2 separate regions of the Homo sapiens genome follow, and region 2 is linked to region 1. The links are contacts of gene promoters, found by promoter capture Hi-C in blood cells and fetal thymus (Javierre and others, 2016). All regions are on one chromosome and are shown on one strand. The core of a region is centred on a gene start or on the middle of the fragment in contact, and the rest is flanking DNA. Distances in the headings are between cores, read along the strand shown.

What was found. The method cuts DNA at HindIII sites, captures the fragments that hold promoters and counts their contacts. A CHiCAGO score of 5 or more calls a contact.
Region 2: a fragment that was not itself captured here is called in contact with the fragment with the promoter of ZNF35 in region 1 in 1 of 17 cell types (monocytes); the score reaches 5.4 in monocytes.

The regions. Positions count from the first base shown.
Region 1 is chr3:44,645,272-44,651,553 of GRCh38, forward strand. ZNF35 (zinc finger protein 35) reads left to right here and starts at 3,461. Exons shown (of 4, transcript NM_003420.4): 1 at 3,461-3,563; 2 at 5,670-5,988. The coding sequence starts at 5,797. ZNF660-ZNF197 (ZNF660-ZNF197 readthrough) reads left to right here. Exons shown (of 8, transcript NR_147692.2): 8 at 1-3,200. It overlaps ZNF197 (zinc finger protein 197), which reads left to right. Exons shown (of 6, transcript NM_006991.5): 6 at 1-3,200. The region is part of intron 2 of ZKSCAN7-AS1 (ZKSCAN7 ZNF cluster antisense RNA 1); the gene reads right to left. RefSeq lists enhancers at 3,146-3,705, 3,584-3,753, 3,834-3,943. The HindIII fragment of the contact is 4,515 bases long and covers 1,197-5,711 here.
Region 2 is chr3:44,727,850-44,733,864 of GRCh38, forward strand. It overlaps ZNF501 (zinc finger protein 501), which reads left to right and starts at 1,786. Exons shown (of 3, transcript NM_001258280.2): 1 at 1,786-2,166; 2 at 3,627-3,711. LOC105377056 (a long non-coding RNA gene) reads right to left here and starts at 1,677. Exons shown (of 3, transcript XR_940788.4): 1 at 943-1,677. RefSeq lists an enhancer at 1,597-1,666. The HindIII fragment of the contact is 464 bases long and covers 2,637-3,100 here.

The DNA of each region.
Region 1 (6,282 bases), core at 2,211-4,710:
GTAAAAGTTTAGAACATGGGATCATGTAAGTTTGTGTATTAAGTCAATATTAGAATGAGGGGGATTCCAGGAACCTAAAAGATACTCATTTTCATAAGAGGAAGTATGGTGAATAGCTAACTGGAATTTAGTGTTCTAAGAATAATTTTGTTAAATTTACCTTTAAAAATATCTGAGGGAGTTACTAGATTATATATCTAGTTTATGTATATGGAAAAAAATGTTATGGCCAGCCATTAACAGTGATGCCAAGGAAAACAATTTATTTCCCAGCTTTTGAATTTGAAACTTAACAGATGGAGAGTGTCAAAATGGAAGGGCAGTGGTACCCTGCTTTCCCTATTCAGAGGGAAAAAAATCCTTGACCCGCAGTTGAGCTGATGATCCCTGCCACAGTCATTGTGAATTCTAATCAATATTTCATCATTGCTGTCAAATGATAGCCTGTTACTAATGAAACAACATTCTGTCCCAGCACTAAATTTACTGGGACATAAATTTTTCACATGGAGCCAAGCTCTTCACTGATTAAGCCAGTGCAGAATCCACTTGTGGGCAGTCAGTGCCCATTACCCCCTGTGAACCATTCTGTGCCCTTGAGTACATTTGTGGGTTTAACTCAGTCTATATTCTTAAGTTGGTAATTTTTATGTTGTAATTCTCAAAGTTCTGTTTCTGTAGCTGGACTATGAATAATACCTGAATATGAAGATTGTGTTTTTTAATAATGTCAAAGTGGTGTGTTGATTATCATAAATGTTATTAATTCAACCCCACAGTTTCTTGGGGGCTGGTTCCTCATTAGAGTGAAAGGTAGCCAAGAGTGAAAACTGGAAGGGGCCTAAGGCTTAAAGTCTTAAGACCTGGATGTGGTTCAGGTTTTGCCATCTGCCTCAGAAAAAATCTCTTCAGTTCTTGGAGCCTTGAATTCCTCATCTGTTAAACAGGAGGAAGAATATCTACCTCACAAAGTTCTTATGAGATAATGAATATAAAAATGTTTCATCCAGGTTGTTGAATCATCCCAGCTTATATAATAATTACAAAGGACATATGTACTTTAACAATGGAGAATGCTGTGATTTACCTCTTCACCGAGTAACAAAATGTCACATTGCTTAGATTGAGACAGCCCACATAATGTGCCACCTTCTGTGATGTAATAAGCTGAAAAATGTTCAACCTGAATTTAATCAAGCTTCTTGGACCTCATTGCCAGGTTACAGGAAATACAGGAGGCAGAGGAACAAATAAAAGACACCACGAGAAACAGACACATCCAGAACGTGGAATATTGCATAAGAAAGCTGCCCTGGATTCTTCAAAATATTATTATGATGAAAAAGAGAGGGGAGTGAAAATTGTTCAAGCTGTCTTGAGTCTGCTGTGAGTTTATTATACCATTCTCTGCTTTTGTGTATGTATGAAAATTTCGATATGAAAGGTATAAAACATGGATGAGGAGGCTTGTTTTTAAAAGATAATACTAGAGAGCCGTTAGGTACTAAGAACCAGAAATAGACTCACATAAATGGCCAATTGATTTTTGACAGGGGCAAAAGCAATTCAATGGAGGAGGGATCGCCTTTTCAGCAAATACTGTTGGAGTAATTGGATATCCATAGGCAGTAAACCAACAACTTCAGGACCTAGGACTGAGCTAAGAAGGCTCAGATGACTCAAAAGCATGCTCCTTAGAAGGAAAAAAAATGTTAAATTGGACTTCATCAAAATTAAGATAATTTACCCTGTAAGAGACCTTTTTACAAAGATGATATTACAGGTTGGGAAAAAATATTTGCAAATCATATCCAACAAGGGATTTGTATGTAAACTACATAAAGAACTTTCCAAATTTAACAGTAATAAGTAAATACAATTAGAAAATAAGCAAAAGACAGACATTTCACTGAAGTATAGATAGCAAATAAGCAAATGAAAAGATGTTCAACATCATTAGGCATGAGGGAAATGCAGAGTAAAATCGTGAGATATCACCTATCAGAATAGCTTAACTTTTTTTTTTTAATGGTGGTAACTGCTGGCAAGGATGAAGAGAAACAGGATCTCATACATTGCTGGGAATGTAAAATGGTACAGCCACTCTGGAATATAATTTGGCAGTTTCTTGTAAAACCACACATGTATATGTCATGCTTCAGGAATTGCACTTCTGAGCATTTATCCCAGAGAAATGAAAACTTGCGTTCACACAAAAACCTGTATACGAATGTTCATAGCAGCTTTATTTGTAATGGTCGAAACCTGTAGGCAACCCATATATCCTTCCTTAGGTGGTTAAAACAAATTGTGGTTTATGTATTACCATGGAATACTTGTTACTCTGCAATAAAATTGACTTATTGATATCCATAACAACTCAAATAAATTTCAAGGGAATTAATGCTGAGTGAAAATAATCACAAAAGGCCATATTCTGTATGAAAATATTCATATAACATTCTCAAAATGATAAAACTATAGAGATGAAAAATGGATTAATGGTTGCCAAAGGTTAGGGATGGTGGGAGGAAAAATGGGGAGAGGGTTGGATGGAACTATTAAAAGGTAGCACCAGAAAGGTCTTTGTGGTGATGGAACACTTGTGTATCTTGATTGCAGTGGTGGTTACACAAATCTATAGGTGCTATACCTATACACACATACTGTACCAATGTTGATTTCCTTTTTCATTTTATGTAAGATGTAACCATGAGGGGAAAGTGGGTGAAGGGTGCTATCTTTGCAACTTCCTGTGATTCTATCATTTCAAAATAAAAAGTAAAAACCAACAATGGCAACGAAAACCCAAAACTAAAGAGCTGTAACCAACTAAAGTGTGTGAAACTGATTTGAAAAAAAGTTATAAAATACATGTTTTAGGACAGTTGGGAAATTTGAATATGACTGGTTATTAGATGGTATTAGGGAATTTTTGTTGATTTTCTTACCTGTGACGGTGGTGGTAGTTTGAAGAATATTCTTAATCTTAAGGGATGCATGTTGAAGTATTTGGAATGAAGTGTTCTGATGTTTACAACTTTCAAAAAAATGATTTTAAATATGTATTGAGAGATCAGGCAAACATAGCAAAATGTTCATTGTTGAGTCCACATGGAAAATACGGGTATTCAATGTGCCATACTTTCAACTCTTCTGTACTCTGATATTTTCAAAATAAAACATTTGAGGGGAAATTATCAGGGCTTTCTACAGATTAATGCTGTGTAGCTTCAGGCTCTTGGGTGCGCGCCTCGCCTGAGTGTCTCATCCCTGCTTGGGATGCGCCCCTCCCTGAGGCTCACTTAGAGCTTCCAACAGCACAATCCTCCTAAGCGCTTCTGCCCCATCCCTGGTCTGGGGCGACATTGGACACCCATCGAGAGGAAAGCACCTCCGAGGTTCCTAGAGAGGCCGGCTTGGCGACTTGGGGAGCCGGAAGCCCATCCCGAGGCACTTCCTGTCCGGTCATTGTTCTCGTGCCGGTAGAAGCTGAAGTACCGGTCAGCCAGCCTCCTGCTGCAGAGCCAGTGAACTCAGGTCGGGCTTCTCAGCTGCGCACAGTGAGTGGGGTCGGAGGGGGTGGGCACGAACGTCGAGGGAGAAAAAGGGGCTCTCCCAGGGGCCATGGCCCTAGGAGCGGCCCCTGCGTCCTTTCCCCGGGGACACCAGCCTTGTCTGTCGGGGTGCGGGGGGCAGTGAGTTCCCCACCGCCTCGGAATCCCGGCTGCTGCCCACCTGGGGCCTGGTCCGGGAGAGGATGCACACGGACCGGCCAAGGGGCCAGATAGGTCCCAGGGACAGGGCCGCGAGGAGCCTATACGTGGAAAGAATGGATTGCCACGTTTGGAAATAGAGAAAGGACGTTGAAAGGGAGCCTTTGATAGAGGGCCCTGTGCCGTCTGGGACCGGAGGTCCGTCAGAATCTGATCAGAAGTCTGATGAGAGTACTCACTGTAGGCAGTCTTATACACAAGGTGGAACTAGTCTTAAGGACCTTCATACCAGATTGAATTCGGATAGTGATGGAAAGAATAGTCCTCCAGAATTAAGGTTTGTCACAGGAATGAAAGTATTGCATTACTTAATAAATTCAGTGTATACAGTAAGTGGCCAGTAAGTTGACATGGGGAAAAGAGTATGATCACTTCAATAGCAGCAACAGGGGATTGAATAAGATTTCGCACCCTTTTCCAATAAAACATTCAAAGGGGGTTAGAAAGAAAAATTTCAATCTCTTCATAAGCAATCAAACTAGTAAGGTTATTTTGCTCACAGGTTAAAAACAAAAACCCTGCTGGCTTAGCTGTGATAAAGGGTTACTGTCAATTAGTGGGGGTGTGAATTGGCATGGTGCTTTTGGAAAGCAATTTGACAGTACATATCAACCAGCAAATCCTTGAACCAGTAATTCTCTGATTATTCTAAAGGAATAATTCAGCAAAAAAAAAATATTTACAAAGAAAAACTTTTAAATATTAATAAAATGGAAATATAAACTTTTACTAAATAAATGGTTCATAAATAGAATATGATTAAGTAAATGATAATATAGCCACAATTTAGAATACTATGCCAGAATGAGGTAGTTCTATATGTGTTGTATTGAAAGATTGTTAAGACTATTGTGAAATACGGAAATTGAGTTAAAAAACAATGCAGGTTGCTGAACAGTATATAACTGTGATGATCTAAAGTATGTTTTTGAAAAATAAGCAATATGTGTGAAGGTGAACATATAAGTATGTAAATGCAGAGAAAATGGGTTAGGACTCCCATCTAAACTGATAAGTACTTTGTGTGTGTGTGTGTGTGTGTGTGTAGTGTGTGTAGGTTATATATTTAATTCTATATATTTCTGTATTACTTGATCCTTTTTCAATGAGAGTGAAGATTTATCAACACCATAGGTTATTGTGTAGCATTTAAAATAAGCATGAAGAATGGCAACATGAAAGTAATCTTTTTTTAAATCTTAAGTGTAATATTTTATCTCACAGGACATTTGGAAGCTATGGAAAATGTAAAAATCAAACAAAAAAAATGAAAAGAACCTTAAAACTACCTGTAATTACACCATCCAGAGTTAACTACCCACTGCTAACACGTTGGTATAAAGACTCCCAGTCTTTTTCTTGGGATCCTTTTGTTCACATTATTTTGTATCCTTGGCAATAAAAAATCTTTTTGTTGTAAAATCCTTTTTTAAAAAATGCTATGATGATAATTGTGAAAATATGTATCCCCAAAGTCAAAAACAAGAATTTGTAAAATCATAATTATTAGTAGTATGGTTGGAGATTTTCCTTTGAAAGAAATATCTTAAATCTTAAAATGTATAGTGGTTATCTCTTTGGAGGTAGACCGAGATGATTTTTCTTAATCATTTGCTGCTTTTAAGTTTTTACAATAAAAGTAAGTTAACTTTTAATCAGGAAAAAATCAATAAACATTATATAAAGCTGTTTGCAATGTGGTTATTATGGGAAGATATTACATATTTATAGTCCAACCCCTTCATCCTATGAGGGAGGAATAGAGGATTCCATGTCCTACATTGGCCCCTGGCCAGGCGCTGGTGAAATTTGCCGGTGTGGCATCCGGCAAATTTGCTAAGTGGCATCCAGCAAATCTCTCCTTGGTGCTAACAGTGTTTTCTGATTTCTCAGTAGGCAGTACTCATCTTGGCCCTGGGAAGAAACTCAAGAAGAAGCTTTTGAAACATAAAGCTTGGATGGGGTTTGACCTCTGCAGGGCAGCGCCCAGCTATAGGAGTTCCCCTGCTGAGCAGAGAAGATGACTGCAGAATTGAGAGAAGCCATGGCCCTAGCCCCATGGGGCCCAGTGAAGGTGAAAAAGGAGGAGGAAGAAGAAGAAAACTTCCCAGGTCAGGCATCCAGCCAACAAGTGCACTCCGAGAACATCAAAGTCTGGGCCCCAGTGCAGGGTCTTCAGACAGGCCTTGATGGATCAGAAGAGGAAGAAAAGGTAAACGGGGGCCTGAGAGGAAGAGGGGAGGAGATACTTGAAGACCTCAAGTAGTTTAAGAGGGGACTCTGCCCCTCTGCTTCCACACCTGGAGTCTTATTTCTTGGGTACAATTCTAGCTTCCAGTCTTTTGTAATAGGATAGAAACATTCCCTTCTGATTGATGTGACATTCAGTACTTTCTGTAAACCAGTGGTTCTCAAATTTTGCTACACAGAACCTGGAGAGCTTTTTATAAAATCTTGATGTCCATACTGTATTCTATTCCTATTAAATCAGAATCCGTGGTCCAGG
Region 2 (6,015 bases), core at 1,619-4,118, 82 kb after region 1:
AAGTGCTGAGAATGTGACACCTGGAGAGGGAAACTTAACATTATTGTTACATGGCATGTCAACTGACAATTTTACAAAGGGTCACTTTTTAGCCAAAGATAGCGATGGCCTCAGTCTGTGGCACCAGCATTCCTGATTTGTGTCCAAAAGGGACTCCATTTTGGGAAAACAGCCAATCTGAAGATTGGAATGGATATTTTTTTTTTTTTTTAAGATGGAGTCTGGCTCTGTCACCCAGGCTGGAGTGCAGTGGCATGATCTCGGCTCACTGCAAGTCCGCCTCCCAGGTTCAAGTGATTCTCCTGCCTCACCCTCCTGAGTAGCTGGGATTACAGGGGCACACCACCACGCCCGGCTAATTTTTGTATCTTTAGTAGAGACGGGGTTTCGCCATGTTGGTCAGGCTGGTCTCAAACTCCTGACCTCGTGATCCGCCCCCCATGGCCTCCCAAAGTGCTGGGATTACAGGTGTGAGCCACCATGCCTGGCCTGGAATGGATAATTTCTCTGCTGCATCTCATTAATTTATACAGCAAGTGTTCACTTCTATATGCTGCACACTAGGGATATGATGGTGTGCACACAGCCCTATTGTCCTGAGATTGCAGATCAGTAGGAATGCTTGGAAGTGAATAAGGTACTCTCCACTCATGCCTTTATCTCTGGACTTTACCTGTCAAGATGAGCCCATGTGTGCAAATATTTCCTGAGTTAGAGCCAGCAAGATCTGAAGTTTTGTAGAAAGGGATGGGTGTGCTACCTTGAGGCCCTGAAAGGTCAGTGAAGTCAGGGCAGAACAATAGGTACTGGAGCTGGGATTTGAGACACAGACAATAGTCCTAACATTTACTGAAGATTTAAAAAATACTAGATGTTCTTAGTAATTCACACGTATTAACCTCACTTAATCCTCACAACAACCCTGTGGTACCATTATTATACCTGGTAAGTGAGGAAGCAGGCACAGAGAGGTAAAGTTGCAAAGTTCATACACTGAGAATCAGGGATTTGAGCCCAAAGCAGTGTTTGATTTGTTTTGTTTTGTTTTTGAGACAGAGTCTCACTCTATCACCCAAGCTGGAGTGCAGTGGCTCAGTCTCTGCTCACTGCAACCTCCCCCTCCCAGGTTCAAGTGATTCTCGCGCCTCAGCCTCCGGAGTAGCTGGAATTACAGGCGCCCACCAGCACACCCGGCTGATTTTTGTATTTTTAGTAGAGACAGGGTTTCTCCATGTTGGGCAGGCTGGTCTTGAACTCCTGACCTCAGGTGATCCGCCCGCCTCGGCCTCCCAAAGTGCTGGGATTACAGGAGTGAGCCACCGCGCCTGGCCTGCAGAACTTTTTCTTTTGGCCACCTGAACAAAGATCCTGGGTCAGTAAGGTGTCAGGGGTTTCTGTGAAGAGGTCAGTTTTCTTCCAGATGAGGATGTGTGTGAGGAAGGTGGAAGCCAGTTTTGTGAAAAGCCTTGAGAATCCCCAAAGGACAGTAACATAGGAAGCTAAATGTGGCGGACTTGCAGGATGAACTGATGCACAGTAAGAGCTCCTTGTGGTCGACCCTTCTGACTTCCATCCCGTTTCCCTGTGCTGGAAGACGCACGCCAGGTGGGGTCGCAGGTTGTTTCTGGTGCCGGCTTAACCGGCGCAGCACCGAAACCCGTAGCTGCGTGCGGGAAGGAACCACCGAGCGGAAGCCGCTCCCACCTTCCTAGAGAGGAGACGGTAGTGGTTATTAGCCGAGGCGCGGACTGCTGACGTCACGCCGGCTGGGCGCGTCCGGGACTTACTCCTTTCCGCAGGGCAGCACCCAGGGACCTGAGTGTTGCAAGGTGCGAGAGGGGAGCGCCGCGGGGAGCGCCGCGGGAAGCGCATGGTGAGCGGTTTCTGCTGTGCCCGGCTGCCGCGGGTCGATTCCAGCTCCTCCCTCGGGAAGCAGGGCGTTTTTCTTCCTGGAGGGCCTGTGGAGCGGAGGCCCGAGGCCTAGGGCAAACTTGCCATGAAGAAAGGAGAGGCTGTTCGAGAGCCCTAGGCTGGGAGTCGGAGGACCTGGGTTCGATTTATACATACTTAAGCATGTCAGTGAACTTCTGGGCACTTTAGTTTTCTGATTTCCAGAAGTAAATACTGTTTCCTGCCTTGCCGTTTCCCAAAGTTGTGCGGGTTGAAGTAAGTATATGCAAGAATTAGTGCCTTCCCTTCATTATTTATTCTTCTCTAACAACAACAAAATAGGTACCGTATGAAGACATGTAGACTCAATACTTTAACAGCAGGCACTATTTATTGAATGCTTACCAGCTGGCATTCTTCTAAGTAGTTGCCATGTAGTAACCCACTTATTCATTACGACAACCCTATAAAGTAGTTACTGGTATCGTCTCCATTTAACAGTTGAAAAAACTGGAGCAAAAAAAGGTTAGGTAACTTGTTCAAAAGTCCTAGTCCTGGAGCCCATGCCATACTTGTAAGTTTGCTGGTGGAAGACAGAATGTAATCAGACTAGAAAGTCCTACAGTAGAAACTTGTAAAATTCTTTGAGAATGTAGACGAGGAAGGGCCTTGGAAAAGTCAAAATTTTCCCACAAGGAAGAGGTGTGAAGTTTCACATTTGAGCTAAATATTAAAGGTTGACTGCAAGCTTGAAAATAATTGCTGGCTTATTTGACCAAATGAGGAAATAAAAGAGACGTTTGAAAATAATTAAACAGTTTGTTCAGTGTCAGTTAAGAGATGCTAGTGGATTGGGATGTATTAGACAGGAAACCAGGTTCCTGCCTTTGAATACAGTGTTCTTTGCATTAGGAGGGTTCTTGAAACCTTTCCCTTATGAAGAGTCCTTAACATCTTACAGCAGATACTCCTTACACAAAGGCAATCCTCTTGTTATTTTCGAGAAATTCCCCCAATTCTAATTGTAGGAGGATAACTGACAGGAAGTTTCCCTGCTGTTGATTCAGCCCGTTCTTAACAAGACCCATTCACCTCACGGCTAGCTCATTTAGTACTTTTCAAATAAATGAATAAACAGATTCAATCAAAGATGGACTGGAAGGGCTTGATTTGAGGTTTTTGCTCTTTTCCCATCTGTATATAGAATCAAAGCTTTGTAGAATGTTGATATTACAAGAAGCTTTAAATATTATCTAGCTTTTCAATTTCATTTAACAAATAAGAAATGGATGAGACTGAGTGACCTGTGTTAGGTCATTGAACAAATTGGTGGCAGAGCTGAGACTAGAATCCACACCTCTTGACTGAGTCCATTACTGGTCCTACTGCCCTCTATTGTAGCCCTGCAGCATTTGACTTTTGAAATCAATGGCTTTTCCAGTAGACTTAGGGGAGCCATTGGGCTCCAACCTGATGTCGTATAAAGAAATTTTTACGCCCAGATGCTTAGTCCTAGGAAGGACCTGCCCTCTTTGTACATTGTCACATCTCTCTGAAGTCTGCCAACTCACTAATTTTTGTCACTGGAGATACTCCTCTAGGATAATAACGATATTCTTTCATTTGAACTTAAAATGGTCATTTGGTTAGAGATGGGATGTTCTTGAGTTACCCTGAATCTAGAAGGTGTAGGAAGTAGGCTGGCAATTTATGAGTGGCTCTTTTTCCTCCCTCAGTGCCTCAAATTCCTGCCTTTCCTCAAGAGAAGAGCCCCCAGGAGAAAAGCCAGTATTGCTTGTGCTCCTAACAACCTGTCTCTTGGTAAGTTAACTCTAACTAGAGAGCCCAGGATGGTGGTGGTTGTGAGACTACCATCAGAAGTGATGGCAGACCTATGGTGGGACCCACCAATGTCCACTAAATGTGGACCCAGCAGAAAATGCAGGACCACACAGAAATGGATACCATTTTACTCAAATCAGTGAGGGTGGCCCACTGTGAAAACGGCTATGGAATAATTGGTTATGGGACAGGTCCTAGAGTGCACTAAGTTCTTATCAGAGTACCTGAACTGAAGACTCTACAGTCATCTGGTAGCACATCTTTAAACCACTTATTGAACTGCTCAGTATGATGCCTTAATGGTGTAGTGGTTGGATCAAGGAATATGGGTAGTAAATTATTGGAAAACCCATTGCAAATGTGATTAGGTATTTCCTCAGAGAATATGGAATGGGCTTCTGGCCATGTTTAGAACAAGAGCTTAAGTTATTGCAGCTGACATTGTCACTGGCAATCAAAAGGCAACATGGAGCCTGGGTGTCTGTCAAACTCAGTAAAATAATTCTGGGTAAATTGTATTCTTAGGTTATGGGAACTCTGTGAAGAGAATATGACTGTGTCCTGAAGAATTTGGATTAGTTTAATATGTATGCATAATATATGTACACTTATGTACGTATTTATGTTTATATGCATCAAGAGATACCTAGAAGAAGGTCCATTAAAATACTATTATTTTCTGTGGCTGGGTTTCAAGTGATTTCCTCTTCGGAGTAGCTGACCATTTAATAGAATGAGCATGCATTCTTTGTATGATAAGAAAAAAACCTTTTTATTTTGGAAAAATGAGAGTAAAGGAATTAAAAATGTGCTTAGAGTTTTGGTTTTACATCTGGTTGCTTAAACCAACTGGAGTTTGTTTTTGTATATAGCATATCCATGTTGTAAGTTAATACATCAGATAAAGATAGGTTTAGGTAAGATAGTCCACATATTTAACAAACAGTATGGTACAGGCATTGCCCAAGCAGGTAGTCGTGAACAATTTGTACAGATATAGCAGTGTGTATCATTTGACTCTCAGCCCCAATAGATCCATATGTACCAACATGAAGTGATCTCTAAGACACATTTTTTAGTGGGAAATAAAAGCAAATTGCAGAGCAGAACCTGTAGAACAATTTCATTTATTTAAAGAGAATCAAGTGATATATGTGTATAGAAAAATGTGAAGAAAAAAGGAATGAAGGAAGATACTTCAAACTTGATAATCTCTGGGGAAAGGAATAGGTTTATTTTGTTAACAAAAATTTTCTTTTAGAGAAGGGGTCTTGCTCTGTATACTAGGCTGGAGTGCAGTGGCATGATCATGGCATACTCCAGCCTCAACATCCTGGGCTCAAGTGATTTTCCCACCTCAGCCTACTGAGTAGCTGGGACTACAGGTGCACATGACCACACCCAGCTAATTTTTTATTTTTTGTAGAGACAGCATCTCACTATGTTGCCTAGGCTGCTCTTAAAACTCCTGGCCTCAAGTGATCCTCCTGCCTCAGCCTCTCAAAGTGTTGAGATTATAGGTGCGAGCCACCATGCCTGGCCTATCTTATATACTTCCATATTATCTAAATATTTTAAAGTGAGGATATATAGTTGTGTAATTTACATGATTAGAAAACAGACAAAAATGGGCCTCAGAGAAGAAGCATGTGTTAGTGTCTCCAGCACCAACTAGGGAAGAGATTGCTCTGACGTGCAGCACCTGAATATTCATTCTTTAATTCTGTGTGGCTTATTTAGGGCACCAGGGTTTCAAAATTTGATAATCATTTAGTTATGATCAATTAAATATTTTGTTCTTTCTCCAGTTCTTTGTTTCCCAAAGAGTGCTCTAATGACAGTGATTTGGTTCACATACTGTTTTTCTAAAGTCCAGAGAATATGTTAACCAGCTCTATATTAAGCACAGAAGTTTTTCATTGTAAATAAATGAAGTGACTTTATTTTCTCTCTCATTCCCCTTATAAATCTGATTAGTATATTTCAGATTTCTTTGGCTACAAAGGTGAGGGCCAGCACCTGGACCATGATGCTGTAGTCAAGTTACTGTCCAATTAAACCTTCTTCTTTAAGGACCACTTCTCTAATTTTCCTGAAACAAAACAGTGATATCTTACTTTCTTTCAGTAAGCAGGACTCTAGTTTTCAAACCTATAGGTTTCCAGTTGGGCCTAGGGAGAGAATTATAGATGGTGAATGTTTTGGAGAGAAAGAGAGATCCAATGAGGCACCTGTAAAGGTGACTGAATGAAGAAGGATTGGTGAGATAGGCCTAGTGAAAGT